Regions from separate parts of the Homo sapiens genome. Here all the other regions are linked to region 4. The links are contacts of gene promoters, found by promoter capture Hi-C in human tissues and cell types (Jung and others, 2019). All regions are on one chromosome and are shown on one strand. Each heading gives the region's core, a stretch centred on a gene start or on the middle of the fragment in contact. The rest is flanking DNA. Distances are from core to core; before and after follow the strand shown. Region 1 overlaps SMARCC1 (SWI/SNF related BAF chromatin remodeling complex subunit C1). Region 2 overlaps SMARCC1 (SWI/SNF related BAF chromatin remodeling complex subunit C1). Region 3 overlaps SMARCC1 (SWI/SNF related BAF chromatin remodeling complex subunit C1). Region 4 holds the start of CSPG5 (chondroitin sulfate proteoglycan 5).

Region 1 (5,767 bases), core at 2,089-4,588, 190 kb before region 4:
GTGGCTCATGCCTGTAATCCCAGCACTTTGGGAGGCTGAGGAGGGCGGATCACGAGGTCAGGAGATCGAGACCATCCTGGCTAACAAGGTGAAACCCCGTCTCTACTAAGTAGCTGGGATTACAGGCACCTGCCACTGCGCCCGGCTAATTTTTGTATTTTCTAGTAGACACAGAGTTTCACCATCTTGGCCAGGCTGGTCTTGAACTCCTGACCTCATGATCCGGCCACCTCTGCTTCTCAAAGTGCTGGGATTACAGGCGTGAGCCACTGTGCCCGGCCCTTTTTTTTTTTTTTTTTTTTTTTGAGACGGAGTCTCGCTCTGTCATCCAGGCTGGAGTACAGTGGTGCGATCTCGGCTCACTGCAGCCTCCGCCTCCTGGGTTCAAGCAATTCTCATGCCTCAGCCTCCCCAGTAGCTGGGACTACAGGTGCCTGCCACCATGCCTGGCTTATTTTTGTATTTTTAGTAGAGACAAGGTTTCACCAGGTTGGCCACTCCTGGTCTTGAACTCCTGACCTCAGGTGATCTGCCCACCTCTCCCTCCCAAAGTGCTGGGATTACAGATGTGAGCCACCGCTCCCAGCTAGCTGCCTGATGTTTTTTATAACAAAAATTTAAACATACTTAAAAGTAAAAGCTTACAAGATTAGTATGAAGAACTTTTATTTTCTCTTCACTCAGAATCTACAGTTAACATTTTACCCATTTGCTTTATCATTATCATTTTCTGTGGGATGTGTGTGTGTTATGTATTTTATGTGTGAAAAATTTGAAAGTTCCATGTTCCTTTACAGCTAAAGTATTCATTTCCTGTTCTCTTACATTATGAACTGGGCTAGAATTATCAAATTAGCTATTGATTGAGGTTTTCAATAGTTTAATTCACTATAATATAGTACATATTGATTGCACTTTATTAATTGTAACATAATTTAGAGTAAAATTACAGATTACATTATATAAAGTATTTTACATAATACGATTGAAATTATATTGGGATTCTTAATTAGGAATGTATGAATCTTTTCAAAAATGGTGTTTTCAGAGAGTGTTATATGTAGGCTATTTGACTCCTGGGAACTAAACCATTATTTAGTTCCAGATTTTAAAATATTAGGGAAGAATATTTTTAGGCAGAAGCCGTAATTAAAAACAATTCCTGGTTTAGTGCCACTGGGAACCGATGTACTTGCCTTCCTCTCAAAATGGTGTTCAACACTTTCCCAGATGAAAGGGATTGATACAATCCATAATGGTATAAAACAAAATTCGATGAGATAGATAATTAACAAAGCAAAGAATGTTTCAGTGAGACATATAAATCACATACTTTAAAAAGTTTTTTCCCTGAGTAATCAGTATGGTATAAGAGTTTATGCTGGGCATGGCTCACACCTGTAATCTCAGCACTTTGGGAGGCCAAGGTGGTCAAAACTCTTGAGCCCAGGAGTTTGAAACTAGCCTGGGCAACATAGGCCCCGTCTCTACAAAGAAATACAAGAAAAATTATCTGGGTGTGGTGGTGCCTGCACGCTTGTAGGCCCAGCTACTTGGGAGGCTGAGGTGGGAGGATCACTTGAGCCTGGCAGACAGAGATTGCAGTGAGCTGAGACTCTGTCTTAAAAAAAAAAAAAGAGTTCACTGTTTTTTTGTTGTTGTTGTCGTTGTCCAGGCTGGAGTGCAATGGCGCAGTCTTGGCTCACTGCAACCTCTGCCTCCCGGGTTCAAACTATTCTCCTGCCTCAGCCTCCCGAGGACCTGGGATTACAGGCGCCCACCACCACGCCCAGCTAATTTTTGTATTTTTAGTATAGACGGGGTTTCTCCATGTTGGCCAAGCTGGTCTCGAACTCCTGAACTTGTGATCCACCCGCCTCGGCCTCCCAAGGTGCTGGGATTACAGGCGTGAGCCACCGCACCCGGCCGAGTTCACTATTTGGACTTTTTTTTTTTTTTTTTAAATCAGAGTGGAGGCTGGGTGCGGTGGCTCACACCTTGTAATCCCAGCACTTTGGGAGGCTGAAGTGGGTGGATCACCTCAGGTTGAGAGTTCGAGACCAGCCTGACCAACATGGAGAAACTCCATGTCTACTAAAAATAAAAAATTAGCCGAGTGTGGTGGTACATGCCTGTAATCCCAGCTACTCAGGAGGCCGAGGCAGGAGAATCACTTGAACCCGGGAGGTGGAGTTTATAGTGAGCCGAGATTGTGCCCATTGCACTCCAGCCTGGGCAACAAGAGCGAAACTCCATCTCAAAAAAAAAAAGAGAAAAAGGAAAAGAAAAAAATCAGAGTGGAACCTTTTTTTTTTTTTTTTTTTTTCTTTTTGGAGACAGAATCATGCTCTGTTGCCCAGGCTGGAGTGCAGTGGTGTGATCTCGGCTCACTGCAACTTCCGCCTCCTGGGTTCAGGCGATTCTCCTGCCTCAGCCTCCCAAGTAGCTGGGACAACAGGTGCCCGCCACCACGCCCGGCTAATTTTGTTTTGTATTTTAGTAGAGACAGGGTTTCACTGTGTTAGCCAGGATGGTCTTGATCTGACCTCGTGATCCGCATGCCTCGGCTTCCCAAAGTGCTGGGATTACAGGCGTGAGCCACCATGCCCAGCTAGAGTGGAACTTTATATAGTAACTTCCCAAGTCATGCTGGATGTCGGACAGCTGGCTCTTGTTCTATCAAATGCTGAGAGATTTAGAAAGAACCAAGCATTTCATAAGGCTAAGGCTAAAGGTATATTGCATTACCAAACACATGATTTGAAACAAAAAAAATTGCTAAGAAGATGTGGGTATAAAACAAAAAAGAAAAATATATTTTACCTTCACTACAAGTAAAGTTTCTAATTTTCCCACAAGCCCTCCAAGGCTTTAGTACGTGTGCATACATAATGTAAACATAATTGTAATAATAGGATAGAGCTGTTTTTCTTTTTTTGAGACAGGGTCTCTCTCACTCTGTCACTCAGGCTGGAGTGCAGTGGCATGATCTCAACTCACTGCATATTCGACCATGACTTTCCAGACTCAGGTAGATCCTCCCACCTCACCCTCCTGAGTAGTTGGGACAAGCATGCACCACTACACCCTGCTAATTTTTGTTTTTTTTTTTTGTAGAGACAGGGTTTTGCCCTGTTGCCCAGACTGTTCTCGAACTCCTGGGCTCAGGCAGTCTTTCCGCCTTGGCCCCCCAAAGTCCTGGGTTTACAGACATGAGCCACAGTGCCCGGCCTAGAGCTGTTTTTTTATTCTGCATTTTAAAATGGATTATAAGCATCTGTGTTTAAAAAAACAGGAAAGCTCTGAGAGTAAGAAATATAGAAGGTTAAGTGAGAGTCTCAAGTAACTGGATTTTAATTGTGTTTGGGAGATATCCAAGATTTTGTTTTCTTTTTTACGTGACACAGCTCCAGGAGATCTTGAGAACATGTACCCTTATGCCCAAAATTGTAAACCTGTCATTGCACTTAAAAAAATCATTTAGGCTGGGGGCAGTGGCTCACGCCTGTAATCCCAGCACTTTGGGAGGCTGAGGTAGGTGGATCACCTGAGGTCAGGAGTTCGAAACCAGCCTGGCCAACATGGTGAAACCCTGTCTCTACTACAAATACAAAAATTACCCGGGTGTGGTGGCAGGCGCCTGTAATCCCAGCTGCTCGGGAGGCTGAGGCAGGAGAACTGCTAGCCCCCAGGAGGCGGAGGTTGCAGTGAGCCAAGATCATGCCACTGTACTCCAGCCTGGGCGACAGAGTGAGACTCCATCTCAAAAAAAAAAAAAAATTAATTTGCAACTGGAGGAAAAATGTAGAATATTATATTCCTGAACTGATTTCACTCTGCTGTTGTATGAATTTCAGAATGGAGAGACTATCTTTGGGAACATGGGACTAGGAAGGAGACCGTAAGTGTTGTATATATATTTGAAGTGAGCATTTGAGTTTGTAGCTTAGAACTCTGTCTGATGAAAGTGGAATATGAGCACCTGTTTAAGCAAAATAGTGTAGGAAATTTACTTGTGGAATAATGGTTTAGTTTCTTTCTTTTTTTTTTTAAACAACTTCCTATTGTAAAATATATAGAAAGTGAGTAAAATAAATTTTGACTTAAATAATTATAAAGAGAACATCCATTTAACCACAGTCCAGGTCAGAAATTGCTAACAACCCTAACAAACGTATGTGTTCCTTCCCCAACCATAAACTCCTCTTTTTCCCCACAGATAATCTTTTCCTTGCCGTTTTTTTTTTTGTATGTTTTTGTTTTTGAGACAGAGTTTCTCTCTTGTTGCTCAGGCTGGCGTGCAATGGCACGATCTCGGCTTACTGCAACCTCTGCCTCCCGAGTTCAAGCGGTTCTCTTGCTTCAGCCTCCTGACTAGCTGGGATTACAGGCATGCGCCACCACGCCCGGCTAATTTTGCATTTTTGGTAGAGACAGGGTTTCTCCATGTTGTTCAGGCTGGTCTTGAACTCCCGACCTCAGGTGGTCTGCCTGCCTCAGCCTCCCAAAGTGCTGGGATTACAGGCGTGAGCCACCGCGCCTGGCCTCCTTGCTTTTCTTTATAGGTATCACTGTGTTAGTGTGCATCCCTGAATAATATAGTATTATGTTTTGCTTGTTTTTGAATTTTGTACTAATGAACTCATAGATATTCTTGTAACTTGGGGGCCATGTAGGAAATAATTTGCCAACATGGAGAAAACAAATAGTCTAACTGAACTGCTCAGCCACATACGTGTGGATAAAACAAATTACTGTAGAAGAATAGTTAAATCTGAAAAATCTAGTTAGCTAGCTTCTGGCCTTTATAATTCATGTGCAAGGGCAGTGAGCCTACATGATGTAGCATGACCAGTTAGATAGAGCTCAGTAGGCTGCAGAATATGGGCTGCTGTGCTGGAGACATGGACTAGTATTCCAGGCAGAGGGCATGCTGGACCAGGTGGTGGGCAAGGCTCTGGAAAGCTATATGATCAACTTCAGTGCAGGTTTGTACTCCGTACCATGTGGATTCGTAGGTAGAAACCTGAGTTCACTGACATTGTACTTATTTATTTGATTGATGTTTCATTTATTTATTTTTTCTATATTTTTACTTTTTTCATCTTTCTCTCTCTCCCTGTAATGTGTCCTACAGCTTTGCTGAAGTATGGCCAATGTACAGTGAACAGTACATATTTAGCTGGGCACACTGGCTCATGCCTGTAATCCAGACTACTTGGGAGACTGAAGTAGGAGGGTCACATGAGGCAAGGAGTTTGAGACCAGCTTGAGCAACATATTGAGACCCTATTTATCAGAAAAACTAAAAATTAGTCGTGCATGGTGGTGTGTGATTGTGGTCCCAACTACTTGGGAGCTGACCCAGGAGGATCACTTGATCCCAGGAGTTAGAGGCTGCCATGAGTTACAGTAGTACTACTGCTGCACTCTAGCCTGAGTGATAGAGCGAAATCCCATCAATATCTCTTTCTCTTTTTTTTTTCCTAAAGAGAAAGGCTGGGTGCAGTGGTTCATGCTTATAATCTTAGCATTTTGGGTGGCTGAGGCTAGAGGAGTCCTTGAGCCCAGGAGTTTGAGACCAGCCTGGACAACATGGTGAGAGCCGTCTACAAAAAATAAAAAAAAATTAGCTTGGTGTGGTGGTGCATGCCTGTGGTCCCAGCTACTTTGGGAGGCTGAGGTAGGAGGATCTCTTGAGCCCAGGAGGTTGAGGCTGCAGTGGGCTATAATCATGCCACTGCACTCCAGCCTAGGCGACAGTGAG
Region 2 (5,652 bases), core at 2,774-5,273, 130 kb before region 4:
ACTCCACCTCCCAGGTTCATGCGATTCTCCTGCCTCAGCCTCCCAAGTAGCTGAGATTACAGGTGCACACTACAACGCCCCGCTAATTTTTGTATTTTTTAATAGAAACGGGATTTCACCATGTTGGCCAGGCTGGTCTTGAACTCCTTATACTTCAGGTGGTCCACTGCCTTGGCCTCCCAAAGTGCTGGAATTACAGGCGTGAGTCACTGTGCCTGGCCAGGTTCCATATTCTTTTGAACTGACCTCTGAATGGTGACTAAAAGGAAGCTAATACTTGTCATCATACTAGATGTCATTTGGTTTCATAGTTTACTGGTCAGTATAGTGATATTCACAGTGTTTTATTTTGGTTAAAATTTTGTGCCTATTTTATGATTTTGTTGGAGTAGGTGGTCTGATTTATGTCAGTGAGTTCTTGTTGATAAAGAGGCTCCTTGAGCAAAGAGATGTGAAGAAATAAGAGAGTAAGCTATATGGATATCTGGACAGTGAGGGAGCAATCTGTGTAGAGTGTATGCAGGCTTAGTAGGGAATGTTGGAATAATGTTATCAAAGCCTGTGTGGCTCAAATATAACATGAATAAGGACAGAAGAGCAGGAAATGGGGTCAGAGTCTCTGTCAGATAATTAGATCTTGAAGCCATGGCAAGCCATCGTTAGGTTTTTTACTTTCACTCTGATAGGGTGAGAGCAGTTGGAAGTGTTGGATCAGTAGAGTGATGTGGACTGACTTAGTTTTCAAAAAGATCACAATGGCTATGTGAAAAATTAACTCTTTGAGAGACCAAGAGACCAATGGCAGAAGCAGGAAAACCAGTGAGCAGAGTGGAGGGGTAAGAATTAGATAGATTCTAGACATACTTTTGAAGTTAGAGCTGGTCACATTTGCAGTTGGTTTGATTACAGGATGTGCTTGAGAATGGAATCAAGGCTGTTTCCAAGGATTTTGGCGAACAGCAGGAAGGATAAAGTTGTCATTACTGAAATGGAAATGATTGGCTAGAGTACATCGCTGGGGCCAGGGTAGCATTGCAAGTTGAGCTTTGAGTGTTAGGTTTGGAATGCTTGTTAGATGTTCTACACAAGGAGATGTGGAGTTGGCTGTTGGATTTATGAGTTCAGAATACATGGGAGAGTGCTGATATAAAATTTGAAGTCATCAGCGTATATTTGGAGTTATAGGAATGAATGAAATTAGCAAGGGAGAAGGATTTTTCCAAAAACTGAACCCAGGAACTTTTGGAGGTTGAAGACATTTGGGACTAAGACCAGAAACTGACATGGAAACTGAAGAGAGGCTGGTGAATATAAGGACTATCAGGTGATAGTACTTTCTTGGTGGCCAAGTGAGGGAAATGCTTTGAGGAAAGACCAAGCAGCTGTTTAAAATTTTTTGATCTTAGTCTTGAACTTCGGGTTTAGCAATATATACGTTACTGGTGACCTCTACAGAGGAGCTTTCTTGGCAGAATAGTAAGGACAAAAGTGTCTGATAAGTTTCTATTAATAGATTTTAGTAGTATTTCTTTTAGTTTTTTGTTTTGTTTTGTTTTGTTTCGAGATAGGGTATCACTCTGTTGCCTAGACTGAAGTGCAGTGGTGTGATCTCAGTTCACTGCAACCTCTGCCTCCTGGGTTCAAACGATTCTTCCACCTCAGCTTCCTGGGTAGTGGGGACTACAATCACATCCCACCATGCCCGGCTAATTTTTGTATTTTTTGGTAGAGACGCAGTTTCACCATGTTGACCAGGCTGGGATTTTAGTAGTATTTCTAAAACATGTTCTTATTATTTGTAAAAGTCTTTCTAATGAATTACCTTTGACTCTAATTTGTTTTTCTCATTTTGATTCCTTTATAGCTATGATACTTGGGTCCATAGTAATGATGTTGATGCTGAAATTGAAGATCCACCAATTCCAGAAAAACCATGGAAGGTAAATGATTTAACAAAAAAAATCTTACAATAATCTTTTTAAAATTTTTTTTGAGATGGCGTCTCACTCTGTCGCCCAGGCTAGAGTGGAGTGGTGCGATCTTGGCTTACTGCAACCTCCGCCTCCGGGTTCAAGTGATTCTCGTGCGTTAGCCTCCCAAGTAGCTGGGACTATAGGCACACGCCACCACGTTAGGCTAATTTTTGTATTTTTAGTAGAGACGGAGTTTTACTGGATTGGTCAGGCTGGCCTCAGCCTCCCGACCTCGGGTGATCGGCCTGCCTCAGCCTCCCAAAGTGCTGGGATTACAGGTGTAAGCCATCGTGCCTGGCCAAAAAAATTCTTACAATAATCTAATAGCTCTTCTCAGCTGTTTTCTACAGCAGTCTCTCTAAGGAGATACAGAATGTTGGTTTCCCTTTCCTGTCATCCATTTACAAGATACGTACGGCCATGAAGACTTTATTATCTAGGTCTTAGATGAAATGTCTGCAGTGCTTGATGTTTGAGGAGAATCCAAAGGCAGGTCAGATTGTGGTTTGTGAGAGAGGAGTGTGAGGAGTAGAGTTGAACATCACTGATGATGTCATTTGGGTAGCTTGGAAGCAATGCCTGTGTGACTTTTAGAATGATACAGACTTACTTTATTAATCATTTCTACCATAATGTAATAAGAGTCCATACATTGACTTTTAATCAACTTTTGATGTGGAAATAAAGTTTATGGGGCATGGTGGCTCACACCTGTAATAACAACACTTTGGGAGGCTAAGGCAGGAGGATTGCTTGACCAGCCTGAGCTACCAAAAAAAAAAAATTATCTGAGCATAATGTCAAGTGCCCTATAGTCCTAGCTACATACTTGGAAGGCTGAGGCAGGAGGATTGCTTGAGCTGAGGAGGTTGAGGCTGCAGTGAGCCGTGATTGCAACCACTTCACTCCAGCCTTTATAACAAGTTAAGACCCTGTCTCAAAACAAAAAAATTAATTTTACAAGTTGCAAGAGTAGTACAAAACAAAGCACTACTTGGTACCCTTCTTCCAGATTTATCTTTTATTTATTTATTTATTTATTTATTTATTTATTTATTTATTTTGAGACGGAGTCTGGCTCTGTCGCCCAGGCTGGAGTGCAGTGGCGCGATCTCGGCTTACGGCAAGCTCCACCTCCCGGGTTCACACCATTCTACCTCAGCCTTCTGAGTAGCTGGGATTACAGGCGCCCGCCACCAAGCCCGGCTAATTTTTCTTTTTTTAGTAGAGATGGGGTTTCACTGTGTTAGCCAGGATGGTCTCGATCTCCTGACCTTGTGATCTGCCCGCCTGGACCTCCCAAAGTGTTGGGATTACAGGTGTGAGCCATTGCGCCTGGCCCAGATTTTTCTGTTTTTAACTATTTTTGGAAATTAAATGTTGAAATTATACTATCATCTAATAGTAAAGGAGTAAGCCATGTGACTCATGAGCCATGTAATGTTGTGAAGTACTACTGAAGGATTTTTAGACATCTATTTCCCTGTAGATTATAGTATCAGAACTGGGAATGATTACTTAACTATGGTATCACATTATTAGGAAGGAAACTAGGCTCCACAAGTTAAGTAGTTTTACCCAAGGACACATGGACTTTTGTATTATTTTGACATGAAGGTATTTTTTATGAGAGAGATAACAAAGCATAGGACTTGAGAGCTCAGGGAGAACTTAGTGCAAATCCAAGCTTTGCCTCTAATTAGGAGTGTAAATAGTCAGCTTACTAAAACTGTTTGCCCAAGTTTTCTGATTTGGAAAGCCAGAGAGTATAATACCCGCATTATTTCACTGTGCTTAGGAGAGTTAAATGAGATTATACGTGTAAGATGTTCAGCATAGTGCCTGACACAAACAGTTGTTAGCTGTCACATACTCCTCTAACATTCTTTCTCAGGAGATTTCTTTCAAGGATTTCTCAGTAGTTAAAGGATTATCAGTGTGAAAATTCAGCTCTTTTAAAAAAAAAAGGAAGCAATGTATACACATGTTTCTCACACTTTGGAAAACACTATTTTGACATTTATTTTCTAAACTATCAGTTAATTAACCCTTTTATTTAGCACAGTCCTATTTTTTTTTTCTAACTAGCTTAAGCCTCTATTTATATACTCTATTTATTTATTTAGTTAGTTAGTTAGTTATTTATTTTGAGACGGAACTTCATTCTTGTTGCCCAGGCTGGAGTGCAATGGCGTGATCTTGGCTCACTGCAACCTCCGCCTCCTGGGTTCAAGTGATTCTCCTGCCTCAGCCTCCCGAGTAGCTGGGATTACAGGCATGTGCCACCACCTTAACTAATTTTTGTATTTTTAGTAGAAACGGGGTTTCTCCTTGTTGGTCAGGCTGGTCTTGAACTCCCGACCTCAGGTGATCTGCCCGCCTCAGCCTCCCAAAGTGCTGGGATTACAGGCATGAACCACCACGCCCGGCCTATACACTCTATTTATTCTGCTCTATTTATACTGCTCTGTTTATACACTCTTCCCATAATTTGTCCATTTAGGAGTCTTTTCAGGTTACATTATTGGAGGCTTTATTTGTCTTGGACAGGCTGTTAATTTGGTGTTTCTGTATATTACTGTGTAACTATAGTTTTCAAGGGAGAGGAGGCGTGTAGTCAGATGGGTATCATTCTTAACTCAAGGTACTTGAAAGGCATATCCCAAATAACCAGTTTAGTAGCTCTTTGAAAACAGGGAGTTTAGATTGACAAATTACTAGGAAGTTCATATTGTTTTCTAGTCATTGCCACAGTGTATCTTGTTTTTACAGTGTTCTAGAAAGGCTTCATAATTGTAATCTGTTCTTGACTGAACATGTTCATTTCAACCAACACTACTCCAACTTAAACCTCCACCATGACTTGAGTTTTTCTGTACAAGGAAGAATTTTCTAGTGTCAAATTCCAGTTGTGCCCCCATTGAGAAATACTGTTGGATAATATGGAATGTTATATGGGTTAGGCCTGTGGTTTAAGTATCTATCTATATGTATATATACATCTACATTTGTACGTCCACACAACCTTTCATTTTATTCTTACTCAGAAGCATGAAATTAAACAAGGGAGGTGGCCATATAAAGGACTAGGAAGAACCCACCATCTGACTGTCACTTTTCCATTCCTACCTAGAGCACCATGTGTACATGATGGGGCAGGTGATCGGCCTCTGCGAATGTGCTCTGTCATCAACACTTAGAGTGTTGTTGATAAACCCAAAGACATCCTTCGTGCCTAAAGCAATGACTGATTTTGGCTCTGTGCTGTTGAATGTTTTTATCAGTGATTTTCATGAACATAAGGATGAAATGATTAAGCAAAACAAATTTGAGGGACTTTGCTATCAAAATCTGGGTCTAGTATAAATTATTGATGCTTTCTTGTTCTCTTTAATATGGAATAAAAATAGAGATGATTAAATTACAACTCACATATCATTAGTAGTATCACATTATTAATGTTTTATGCATTTGAGGCTTTGAAAATAAATCAGCTTGTTTCCTTCTCAATACTGTAAAACCTTGAGTGATTTTGTTATTTATGTAGATATTGATGCTTTGATATGGTTTTAGGTTCATGTGAAATGGATTTTGGACACTGATATTTTCAATGAATGGATGAATGAGGAGGATTATGAGGTGGATGAAAATAGGAAGCCTGTGAGTTTTCGTCAGCGGA
Region 3 (5,666 bases), core at 1,078-3,577, 170 kb before region 4:
GTTTATATTGTTTTTACCTTCATAATGTGGAAATTATTCACCATTTCGTTTAATTTGAGCTATATTTTTAATCTGTAAAGCACAGATCTCTTGAATTGTGGCATAGATTTTAGCTATTATAGTTTTATATAGTTACACCACATTTTTATGGTCATTAAATATTATAATAGGCCGGGTGCGGTGGCTCATGCCTGTAATCCCAGCACTTTGGGAGGCCAAGGTGGGCGGATCACTTGAGATCAAGAGTTTCATATCAGCTTGGCCAATATGGCAAAAGTTTGTCTTTTAAATATGCAAAAAACAGAAAAAAAATTAGCCAGGCGTATTGGCACTTGCTTGTAATCCCAACTACTTGGGAGGCTGAGATACGAGAATTCCTTGAACCCAGAAGGCAGAGGCTACAGTGAGCCATGATCACCCAGCTGTACTCCAGCCTGAGCAACACAGTGAGACCCTGTTTCAAAAAGATAAAAAAGTATAATAAAAGTGTTCACTTACAATTTTTGCATAATTTATGTTTTTATTTTTATTTTTTATTTTTTGTTGAGACAGTCTCACTGTGTCGCCCAGGCTGGAGTGCAGTGGTGTGATCTTGGCAACCTCTGCCCCTGGGTTCAAGCGATTCTCCTGCCTCAGCCTCCCGAGTAGCTGGGATTACATGCGCCCGCCACCATGCCTGGCTAATTTTTGTATTTTTAGTAGAGATGGGGCTTCACCATGTTGGCCGTGCTGGTGGCAAACTCCTCACCTCACATGATCCACCCGCTTTGGCCTTCCAAAGTGCTGGGATTACAGGCGTGAGCCACCATGCCTGGCCTAATTTTTGTATATTTATAGTCAAGAATTTATAAGGCGAAGAAGTCCACTATCCTTATATTTCTTTTTTTCTTTTGTTTCTTTGTGACAAAGTTTCACTTCCTTGCCCAAGCTGGCCTCAAACTCCTGGCTTCAAGCAGTCCTCCCTTCCTCCCTGCCTTCTTTCTCAACCAGAGTACTGGGGTTACAGGCATTTTCTTTGGAACCATTTTGATTTATCTTTTTTATAAAAAAATTTGTTTTTTGAGATAAGGTCACACTCTGTCACCCAGGCTGGATTTGTCACCATCACAGTTCACTACAGCTTGACTTCCCATGCTCATGCAATCCTCCTACCTCAGCCTCCTGAGTAGGTGGGACTACAGGCGTGTGCCACCATGCCTGGCTAATTTTTATATTTATATTTATATTTATATTTATATTTATATTTATATTTTTTTGAGACAAATTCTGGTTTTATTGCCCAGGCTAGAGTATAGTGGCATGGTCTCAGCTCACTGCAACCTTTGCCTCCTAGGTTCAAGCCATCCTCCTACCTCAGCCTCCCAGTAGCTGGGGCTACAGGCACACTCCCCCCATGCCTGGCTAATTTCTTTTGCATTTTTTGTTGAGACGGGGTTTCACCATGTTGCCCAGGCTGGTCTTGAACTCCTGTGCTCAAGCCATCTGCCCGCTTCGGCCTGCCAAATGCTGGGATTACAGGTGTGAGCCACTCCTGCACCTGGCCTAATTTTTAAATTTTTTGTAGAGGTAGGATCTCACTGTGTTGCCCAAGCTGGTCTCAGACTCCTGGCCTCAAGTGATTCTTTCACCTTGGTGTCTCAAAATGTTAGAATTACTGGTGTGTAGCCAGGCACGATGGCTCATGCCTGTAATCACAGCACTTTGGGAGGTTGAGGCGGGCAGATCACCTGAGGTTGGGAGTTCGAGACCAGCCTGGCCAACATAGAGAAACCCTGTCTCTACTAAAAATGCAAAATTAGCCGGGCGTGGTCATGCATGCCTATAATCCCAGCTACTTAGGAGGCTGAGGCAGGAGAATCACTTGAACCTGGGAGGCGTAGGTTGCAGTGAGCCGAGATAGCACCATTGCACTCCAGCCTGGGCAACAAAAGCAAAATTCTATCTCAAAAAAAAAAAAAAAAAAAAATTACTGATGTGAGCCACTGCTCCTGGCCTATATTTAGCTTTTTAAAATCTTTCTTTTGACAGACTAATTACTCAAATTATAATATGTTTATGGAATTTAAAAGGAATTCTTTTGGGGAGGGGTATGGGGTCTTGCTATATTGTCCAGGCTGGTTTTGAATTTCTGTGCTCAAGTGATTCTTTCATCTCAGCCTCCCAAGTAGCTGCGACTATAGGTGTGAGCCACTGTACTGGCTACAAGAAAGTAGTTTCACTTCAGTTTATTTCATTTGATTTTTCTTGAGACAGCATCTCACTCTGTCATCCAGGGCTGGAGTGCAGTAGGGCGATCAGGGCTCACCGCAGGCTCAACCTCTCAGGCTGAAGTGATCCTCCCACCCCAGCCTCCTGGATAGGATTGCAGGTGTGTGCCACAATGCACAGCTAATTTTTAAATTTTTTTCTAGAGACTGGATCTCCCTGTGTTGCCCAGACTGGTCTTGAACTCCTGGGCTTAAGTGATCCTCCTGTTTCACGCTCCCAGAGTGTTGGGATTACAGGCATGAGCCACCATGCCCAGCCTAATCTACTTTTAGAAAAATGTATTGATTCCTCAGTTTATTCAAGAAGATGTTTAAGGAGGTTGTTTAATTAGTATTTGTTTATATATTTGAATTTATAAAACTTAGAATTAAGACATGAGTAATTTTGTCAGAAGCTTTATTTTTCTCATGTGTAATTTGTATCATTTTTAGGCAAAGTGTTTCATGGATTTCAAAGCTGGAGGCGCCTTATGTCACATTCTTGGGGCTGCTTACAAGTATAAAAATGAACAGGGATGGTAAGTTTTTGTATTTGTTTGCATGTTTTGATCTTAAGTTATTTACTTTTAAGTCCTGTTTCCTTGTGTTAGAAAATCCTGTAAGCACATGATGATTAATGTGTTTTACCAAGAGCCCTAATTTACCTTGTTTCTACATCCAAGAAAAATATCAAGCAACCACGTATTTATTTATTTTTGAGACAGGGTCTTAAAAATAGGACCAACCAAGGCTGTTGGCAAGGCTAGAAGTGCAGTGGTGGAATCTCAGGTCACTGCATCCCGCGCATCAGATTCAAGCAATTCTCATGCCCCAGCCTCCTGAGTAGCTGGGACTGTAGGCGTGCACCACCATGCCTGGCTAATTTTTCTATTTTTAGTAGAAATAGGGTTTTGTCATGTTGGTCAGGCTGCTCTCAAACTCCTGGCCTCAAGCACTCCACCCATCTCAGCCTCCCAAAGTGCTGGGATTACAGGCGTGAGCCACCGCACCCGGCCACAACCAAGTATTTATTAGGGAAGTGATTTCTTATATTTGATTTTTATAGTAACAGGTGTACATTGTTAGCAAATTAGAAGGTAGGCTTGCCATGAAATGTGTGTGTATAATGAACTCATACATTATATTTGAAGTGGATAGATAGTATTTTTGTTTGTTTGTTTTGTTTTTTTGAGACTTAGTTGCGCTTTTTCGCCCAGGCTGGAGTGAAGTGGCACCATCTCAGCTCACTGCAACCTTCCAGTGATTCTCCTGCCTCAGCCTCCTGAGTAACTGGGATTACAGGCACCTGCCACCACATGCCCAGCTAATTTTTGCATTTTTAGTAGAGATGGGGTTTCACCATGTTGGCCAGGCTGGTCTCGAACTCCTGACCTCAGGCGATCTACCTGCCTTGACCTTCCAAGGTGCTAGGATTACAGGTGTGAGCCACCGTGCCTGGCCAGATAGCAGTTTTAAGAGATAAAGTTATCTAGGCCTGCAAGAGTATTCCATTTTGCTATCCTCAGGACAGGGATAAAAGAAATAGAGATCTTTGCCTAGGTCAGTGTTGTAGATAGATTGAGAATCCCTGCAGATATTCCTGCCATTTTGCTCCCTTCAGTCTTTTCCCCTTTTCTAGCTGTCTCTCTTGGTACTATTTCTTTTTTTTCTCTTGAACTCTGGAGTTTCCATCAGTTACTGGGACTAGTGATGTCCTGAGCTGTGGGGTTGTCAGGGACATAGTTCACAGGGTAGGGTTGGGGGAGTGGAGTATATTGTCCTGAAATTGTTTGGTATTTTCAGTTGAGTTAGTGGTGCACAGTTTATAACCTTAGCATCTTTCCAGGAGAATACACATGTAATTTATATATTTTACTTTAAAAGTTAAGCTAACCCAATACTTTATGGTTGGGAAGTGCAAATAAATATTTAGATCAACAATAAGGACAAGTGTGTAATTAAATAAATTATTTATATAGTAAATAGTAGGAGATACAAACTTACATGTGTATTTACTGAAACTTTTTATATATGGATGGTGTTTAATAGATATTGATTTGGATCACCTGAGGTCAGGAGTTCGAGTCCAGACTGGCCATCATGGCGAAACCCTGTCTCTACTAAAAATACAAAAAAAATTAGCCAGACTTGGTGGCAGGCACTTGTAATCCCAGGTACTCAGGAGGCTGAGACAGGAGAATTGCTTGAACCCGGGAGACGGAGGTTGCAGTGAGCTGAGATTGCGCCACTGCACTCCTGCCTGGGCTGTCTCCAAAAAAAAAGATATTGACTAAAGTAGCATGAGACTTGTTTCTTTTTGTTATCAGAGGTAGCTCTCTGTTTTCCAGTTCTGTGTCTAGCTCTGATGTTGGACCTCTCACGATGGTATTCCCTATCTAGGAGCAACGGCATGTCTCTGTACTTGTAGAGATGGTTTGTACCCTACTGTTAACTCTGGGTTCCCAGTTGGAACTCTTTTCTGTCCTTGGTTCTTGTTTAGCTTTTATCACAAGTCCTAACCTGGACACTTGAGGATAGAATACCAAAGTGATATGATTTTTCCTAGGTCACATATTGTGGAACTTGCTTTGTGTCTGTAGTTTCTGCACAATGAAATTTTTTTTTTTTTTTTTTGAGACATAGTCTCGCTCTGTCACCCAGGCCGGAGTGCAGTGGTGTAATCTCGGCTCACTGCAACCTCTACCTCCCAGGTTCAAGCAGTTCTCCTGCCTCACCCTCCTGAGTAGCTGGGATTACAGGTGCCTGCCACCACACATGGCTAATTTTTGTATTTTTAGTAGAGACCAGGTTTCTCCATGTTGGCCAGGCTGGTCTTGAACTCCTGACTCAGGTGACCCGCCAGACTCGGCCTCCCAAAATGCTGGGATTACAGGCATGAGTCACCATGCCCGGCCACAGTGAAATATTTTTATCTGAAATCACTTGCAGTAGTTTAGAAAGATACGTGTAATACAGGCCGGGTGCAGTGGCTTGTCTCAAAAAAAAAGGAAGATATATGTAATACAGTTTCCTTAAAATTAAAAGTGGGACTAAAAAAGACGTAAAGGATAGGGTTAGCATTGTCAGGAATAAGAATTTTTCCAAGTCTTTTATGCAGATTGTGCCAGAATTATTTCCTTTCAGGTATAGTTATGTGTCCAGTTTCAGTGTGCACCTTCTCTCATCTCTTGTGCCTCGCACACTTGAAGTGAGTGCATATTTTAGTAACTCCCCACTCTGTTTGGATATCTGAATACTGACCTGTCATTCTTGCCCCATGCCTAACATGCCTCTCAGAACTTTGTCTGTGTTCTTTAATTGAACCTCACAGTCTAGGTTGCATTTCTGGCTTTAGGTCCAAAGTTTGCTGGTTTTGTTATTACGGCAAGCACTATTTTCTTCTTATTTCATTGTGGTTCT
Region 4 (6,063 bases), core at 226-2,725:
AGTTCTGGGATGGGTGTGGGTGGTTGCCATTCGTTCATTTATGCCTGTCTGATATGGAGCCTCCCTCTGTTACCAGCCCTGTGCACTCAAGTGCCTTGCAGTCCAGTGAGGAATAACTGTAGATAAGATGAGATGATGGGCATTAAGTGTAACTGCTGAGAAGCCTTCATAGAGGGAAAGGTGATAAGAACTGAGTTTTTCTGGCATGAGGAGTTTACCAGGCAGGAGAGGTGGAGACGCTAGGCTAGGCAAATAGGCTGCAGCCATAGTTCTGCTGAGAAACAGGTTTTGAACCAAGGCAACTCCATCTGGAGATATGTATCAGAAAGATTAGGAGATAGAATCTCCATCTTGGTCACTTATTTGGTCTTCTAAGACAGCAATGGGACCGTCTCTTAAATACTGGAGTTGTCCTATCTCCTTGGGCTGATACCCTGAACTGTCATTTGGGTGAGTAACACATTAAGGGGTAGACGGTCGGTTTGGGGGAATAAACTAAGTAACTAGGTTGCGGTTCCTCCTGCCGACTAAGCAGACCTCCTGGTGCGTGGTCTTGGGTTGCCCTGTGAGCCCTGAAGCTGTGAATGGGCCCCACAGATCACTCTAAAGCCAAGCATCCATGTGTGCCCGGCTGGGGATCTAGACCCCCCTGGTCTACCCAGGAACCTGAGTTTTGGTGGTCTGAGACACCTGGGGGACGACGTATCCCGGAGAAGGGACCAGGATTAAAGGCCGCTCCCCAGGCTGCCCGGAGACTAGAAGGAAGGCGAGGTAGCCGCAGTCCCAGGGAGGGTCTTACCCCTTGCTCCCGGGATGCGTTATGGCGGGCCTGGCTGTGCGAGATCTAGGCTAGTGGCTTTGGCTGCGAACGGATTAGATCTGATCCGATTAGAGCCTGGGCGGTCGGCTTCGCCCCCTTGCCAGGCTCTGCCAACGCCCGCCCCTCCCTCGTGGAGACCCGGAGACCTCCCTGAGAGCCTTCCCGCCCGGAACACGGGATTGGTGCAGAATCCGAGAGGCTCCATGCGCCCCGGGCCTGGCTTGTTTCCACAGTGGGGGCTCGTGCTTCCGCCCCCTGCGGCTCTTCTGGACCCCGCCCCGACCCTGCGGGTAACTGGGCCCGCGACGTCCCCGCCTCCGTGCTTGCCGCGTGGCGGGTGGGTTCCTCCGGGTCGGGGCCCCGTGCCGCCTGTTCACCTGGGGCGGGACCGTGGCCCCATCCCACAGGTCTCCCGCCCGTGCACCTGCCGCCTAACGCCGCGCGCCGCGCCGTGCGCCTGCCTCGCGCTCCCCGTCCGCCTGCCCCGCACTCCCCGTCCGTGTGTCTCCTAGTCCCCAGCGAGGGGTCTGTCTGTTCCCCTGGCAGGCTGACCAAGGGGCCGGCGTCACCGCTACGTGCGGCGGGGCCGGCGCGGCGGGCGGGGTGAGGGCGGCGCTGAGCGCAGCGGCGGCAGCGGCGGCGCGGGAGGCGGGGAGGCGCGGCGCGCCGGGGACAGCGGCGGACGGCGGCGGCGGCGGCATGCGGCTCCTCGCGCTGCCCATCGTGGGCTGAGGCGGCCGCAGAACCGGCGGGAGGCGCGGCGGCCGGGCGAGCCGAGGGCGCAGCCAGCCGGGCGGACCGCGGACAGCGGTCGGGGCGCCGCGCCATGGGGCGAGCCGGGGGCGGGGGCCCGGGCCGGGGGCCGCCGCCACTGCTGCTGTTTCTGGGGGCCGCGCTGGTCCTGGCCTCTGGGGCCGTGCCGGGTAGGTATGACTGCGCCCGGGACCCCCGCGGCCCTCGTGCCCCACCCAGGGCAGGGGTCCCGCTGGCGGCGGGGACAGGTGGAGCTGTGAGCTGTGGCAAGGGGGCGGGGCACCGCCTGGCCGCGGCCGGGCGGCGGAATGGTCCCAGGAGGTGGTGGGGGTCCGGGAAAGGCCGACCCGCGTGGGGGCCGACCCCGGTTGGGGTAGCCGGGACCCAAGCGCGCGGGCCGCGGTGCGGACTGGGGGCGGGGCCGGGGGCGGGGCCGGGGCGGGGCCGGGGCGGGGCCTGAGGGTGAGACTTCGGGGCGGGACCTGGAGCTGAGGGCGGGAGCCAGTGGACGCGGCTCAGGGTGGGTTCCCGAGGGTGAGACTTATGGGTGGGCCGAGCTGGGGGCCGCCCTGGCCTGGCTCTTCAGACGGCGGGGCAGGTCGGGCGGGGCCGAGCCGCGAGGCGTTGGGCGGGGTGTGATCCTCGTCTTGGGGGCAGACTCCGGGACGGGGCTTAGAGGTACCGGGTGGCTGGGGTCACACTGGGGCGGTGGGGTCTGAGGGTGGCGAGGTCTGGGTTGACCAGGTCTAGGCGAGCGGGCCTGACCGGGGCGGGCCGGGGCTCCAGGGCTCCTCAGCGCGCCGCCCTGACGTCCCGCCCCTTGCCCTCCCGCCCGCAGCGCGTGAGGCGGGCAGCGCGGTTGAGGCCGAAGAGCTGGTGAAGGGCAGCCCGGCGTGGGAGCCGCCTGCCAACGACACGCGGGAAGAAGCCGGCCCACCAGCGGCTGGGGAAGATGAGGCGTCGTGGACGGCGCCCGGTGGCGAGCTGGCCGGGCCAGAAGAGGTGCTGCAGGAGTCGGCTGCGGTGACCGGCACCGCCTGGCTGGAAGCTGACAGCCCAGGCCTGGGAGGAGTGACCGCAGAGGCGGGCAGCGGCGATGCCCAGGCCCTTCCAGCTACGCTCCAGGCTCCCCACGAGGTCCTCGGGCAGTCAATCATGCCCCCTGCCATTCCTGAGGCTACAGAGGCCAGCGGGCCACCCTCCCCCACCCCCGGCGACAAGCTGAGCCCAGCTTCTGAACTCCCCAAGGAGAGCCCCTTGGAGGTTTGGCTGAACCTGGGGGGCAGCACACCCGACCCTCAAGGGCCAGAGCTGACTTACCCATTTCAGGGCACCCTGGAGCCCCAACCGGCATCAGATATCATTGACATCGACTACTTCGAAGGACTGGATGGTGAGGGTCGTGGCGCAGATCTGGGGAGCTTCCCAGGGTCACCAGGAACCTCAGAGAACCACCCTGATACTGAGGGAGAGACCCCTTCCTGGAGCCTGCTTGACTTATACGATGATTTCACCCCCTTCGATGAATCTGATTTCTACCCCACCACATCCTTTTATGATGACTTGGATGAAGAGGAGGAGGAAGAGGAGGATGACAAAGATGCAGTAGGAGGTGGAGACCTAGAAGATGAAAATGAGCTTCTAGTGCCCACTGGGAAGCCTGGTCTGGGGCCCGGGACAGGCCAGCCCACCAGTCGGTGGCATGCTGTCCCTCCACAGCACACTCTGGGGTCGGTCCCCGGCAGCAGCATCGCCCTCAGGCCCCGCCCAGGAGAGCCAGGCAGGGACTTGGCCTCCAGTGAAAATGGCACTGAGTGCCGCAGTGGCTTTGTGCGGCATAACGGCTCCTGCCGGTCAGTGTGCGACCTCTTCCCAAGTTACTGTCACAATGGCGGCCAGTGCTACCTGGTGGAGAACATAGGGGCCTTCTGCAGGTAAGGGCATGGCAGGCAGGTGCATAGGGACACTGAAGAGTGTATGTGAGGCCGACTCAACAGAGGGCAGCGTAGCCGGGCGCGTTGGCTCACGCCTGTAATCCCAGCACTTTGGGAGGCTGAGGCAGGCGGATCTCCTAAGGTCAGGAGTTCAAGACCAGCCTGGCCAAGTTGGTGAAACCCCATCTCTACTAAAAATACAAAAAATTAGCTGGGCGCGGTGGCAGGCACCTGTAGTCCCAGCTACTCAGGAGGCTGAGGAAGGAGAATCATTTGAACCCGGAGGGTGGAGGTTGCAGTGAGCCAAGATCGTGCCACTGCCCTCCAGCCTGGGTGACAAAGTGAAACTCCATCTCAAAAAAAAAAAAAAACAAAACAAAACAGAGGGCAGCGTGACAGGCACAACTTGCAAGAGGTTGTACAGTCGCAGGATTCCCAGGTGGAGAAATGTTCACTCAGGCTTCTTCTACAGAATTACTTGGTAAAATGCACTTCCTGTGACCTTATCACTAGGAGAGGTTCCTCAGAAATAAGATTATGTCTTTCCTCTGTGTGTTGTGTCCTTACCCAAACCCTCAATTACAAAGGCAAAATGAGGCCGGGCGTGGTGGCTCACGCCTGTAATCCCAGCACTTTGGGAGGCCGAGGTGGGCACATCACCTGAGGTTGGGAGTTCGAGACCAGCCTGACCAACATGGAGAAACCCTGTCTCTACTAAAAACATAAAAAATTTAGCCGGGTGTGGTGGCACATGCCTGTAATCCCAGCTACTCGGGAGGCTGAGGCAGAATTGCTTGAACCCAGGAGGTGGACGTTGCAGTGAGCCGAGATCACGCCATTGCACTCTAGCCTGGGCAGCAAGAGCGAAACTCTGTCTCAAAAAAAAAAAAAAAAAAAAAAAAAGGCAAAATGAAGGGAATTCTTTAAGAGTTTTGGAAAAAGGGCTGGGTTGAGGGGTGTTTGCTGGAGGGTTCTGGTGGTACTGGTGAGAGGGGTAGGCCCATAAACCTACTCTGTGGGATAAAGACAGCTGTTGAACACCGCTCCATGCCTTGTGCTCGGCGGGAGGAGGGGCCAGTTCCCTGGAAGGAATGTAGGCACGCAAACTCAAAAGGGAGGACCTTCTTGGAAACAGACCCCAAAATGCAGCCACTCACACAGATAAAATCAAGCTGAGAGTCTTCGCATTGCAGATGTGCGGGTGTTTCTTGACTTTGGGAGGTGGCTTTTTTCTTTCTACTTTGATGTTTGTCTACCTTGGGATATCAAATCCATAATCCTTTTAAAGACTCAGAGTTTAGTTTTCCTAAGGGCATTGTCTGTAGCTCATCAGTAATTACCCTACTCACCTCACTCTTAGGAACTGTCCTCACAGTGAGGTATTTAACTTGCTGGAGAGCTTGCAGCCTGATTCCGGAAGAATCCCAGGGTGGGGTGATCAGGTGGTTTGCTTGTCTCCATCCTTTACAGGCTGTAGAAATGGAGGAGAGCCCTCAGACTCCTTTGAGGGTTGTCTCCATTAGTCCTAGATGGAGCATTTCTGTCATCTGTGTGTCTCTTTTTATTTTTAGTAGAGATGGGGTTTCACCATATTGGCCAGGCTGGTCTCAAACTCCTGACCTCAAGTGATCCGCCCACCTCAGCCTCTCAAAGTGCTGGGATTACAGGCGTGAGCCACCACGCCCGGCCAGGGTATCTCTTTTTCAAGTGTCATTCTCCATCCTTCTTGTTCTTGTTCGTTCTGCAAGTATATGATGAATTCAAGTTCCTTAGGTCTTGATGTAGTATATCAGAGAATAACATGTAGAAAGCAATGAGTATTTTGTCCTTGGCGTTGTAACTTAAGTTCCAGTTTCTTTCTATGAAGTTCTTTTTTTTGTTGTTGTTGTTTTTAGAGACGGAGTCTCACTCTGTCGTCCAGGCTGGAGTGCAGTGGTGCAATCTCGACTCACTATAAGCTCCGCCTCCCAGGTTCATGCCATTCTCCTGCCTCAGCCTCCGGAGTAGCTGGGACTGCAGGCGCCCGCCACCACGCCCAGCTAATTTTTTGTATTTTTAGTAAAGACGGGATTTCACTGTGTTAGCCAGGATGGTTTCAATCTCCTGACCTCATGATCTGCCCTCCTTGGCCTCCCAAAGTGGTGGGATTACAGGCGTGAGCCACCGCGCCCAGCCGAAGTTCTTTATTATAAATGGTCATGACATTAGGGTCACTCATAGGATGTGACCACACAGTTCTTGGAGTGGTCCAGCCATTGCCAGAAGGAGGTACTATGATTAAGAAATTGTAGCAATTTTATTTTTAAAAAGAAAATATGGCAATAAACTAACTTGCCAGTTGATTAAGGGCTACCAGAAATATGAGGAAACCCTGTGATTTTGCTCCTCAAAATTCAGTTTGGGGGACTATAGTGATGATTTCAGCCTGGGGGCTGTGCAACCTCTCTGCAAAATCATCATCTTTCATCCTATTGGAGGCCTGGAATTTTCACCTTCAAAGTGAACTCCCCATAATAGTATGAAATTTGGAGCCCTTGCTGCCTCTAGAGAGCTGTA

Evidence for each region. Contacts are between HindIII fragments. The study calls those that stand out against the background at their distance.
Region 1: a fragment that was not itself captured here is called in contact with the fragment with the promoter of CSPG5 in region 4 in 1 of the 25 tissues and cell types used here (mesenchymal stem cells).
Region 2: a contact is called between a fragment that was not itself captured here and the fragment with the promoter of CSPG5 in region 4, in 5 of the 25 tissues and cell types used here (IMR-90 fibroblasts, aorta, dorsolateral prefrontal cortex and 2 more).
Region 3: a fragment that was not itself captured here is called in contact with the fragment with the promoter of CSPG5 in region 4 in 5 of the 25 tissues and cell types used here (IMR-90 fibroblasts, aorta, heart left ventricle and 2 more).

What each region holds. Positions count from the first base shown.
Region 1 is chr3:47,763,749-47,769,515 of GRCh38, reverse strand. All of the region lies in intron 2 of SMARCC1 (SWI/SNF related BAF chromatin remodeling complex subunit C1), which reads left to right. Among named protein-coding and RNA genes, the nearest start is that of SMARCC1, 15 kb to the left of the region's middle. The HindIII fragment of the contact is 7,286 bases long and covers 1-5,767 here.
Region 2 is chr3:47,710,703-47,716,354 of GRCh38, reverse strand. It overlaps SMARCC1 (SWI/SNF related BAF chromatin remodeling complex subunit C1), which reads left to right. Exons shown (of 28, transcript NM_003074.4): 8 at 1,865-1,940; 9 at 5,547-5,652. Among named protein-coding and RNA genes, the nearest start is that of HIGD2AP2, 51 kb to the right of the region's middle. The HindIII fragment of the contact is 9,280 bases long and covers 1-5,652 here.
Region 3 is chr3:47,743,027-47,748,692 of GRCh38, reverse strand. It overlaps SMARCC1 (SWI/SNF related BAF chromatin remodeling complex subunit C1), which reads left to right. Exons shown (of 28, transcript NM_003074.4): 3 at 2,700-2,785. Among named protein-coding and RNA genes, the nearest start is that of SMARCC1, 36 kb to the left of the region's middle. RefSeq lists an enhancer at 5,433-5,572. The HindIII fragment of the contact is 9,491 bases long and covers 1-5,666 here.
Region 4 is chr3:47,574,277-47,580,339 of GRCh38, reverse strand. It overlaps CSPG5 (chondroitin sulfate proteoglycan 5), which reads left to right and starts at 1,475. Exons shown (of 5, transcript NM_006574.4): 1 at 1,475-1,743; 2 at 2,412-3,507. The coding sequence starts at 1,647. RefSeq lists an enhancer at 146-850 and silencers at 1,975-2,024, 2,065-2,124, 2,175-2,264, 3,867-4,161. The HindIII fragment of the contact is 21,614 bases long and covers 1-6,063 here.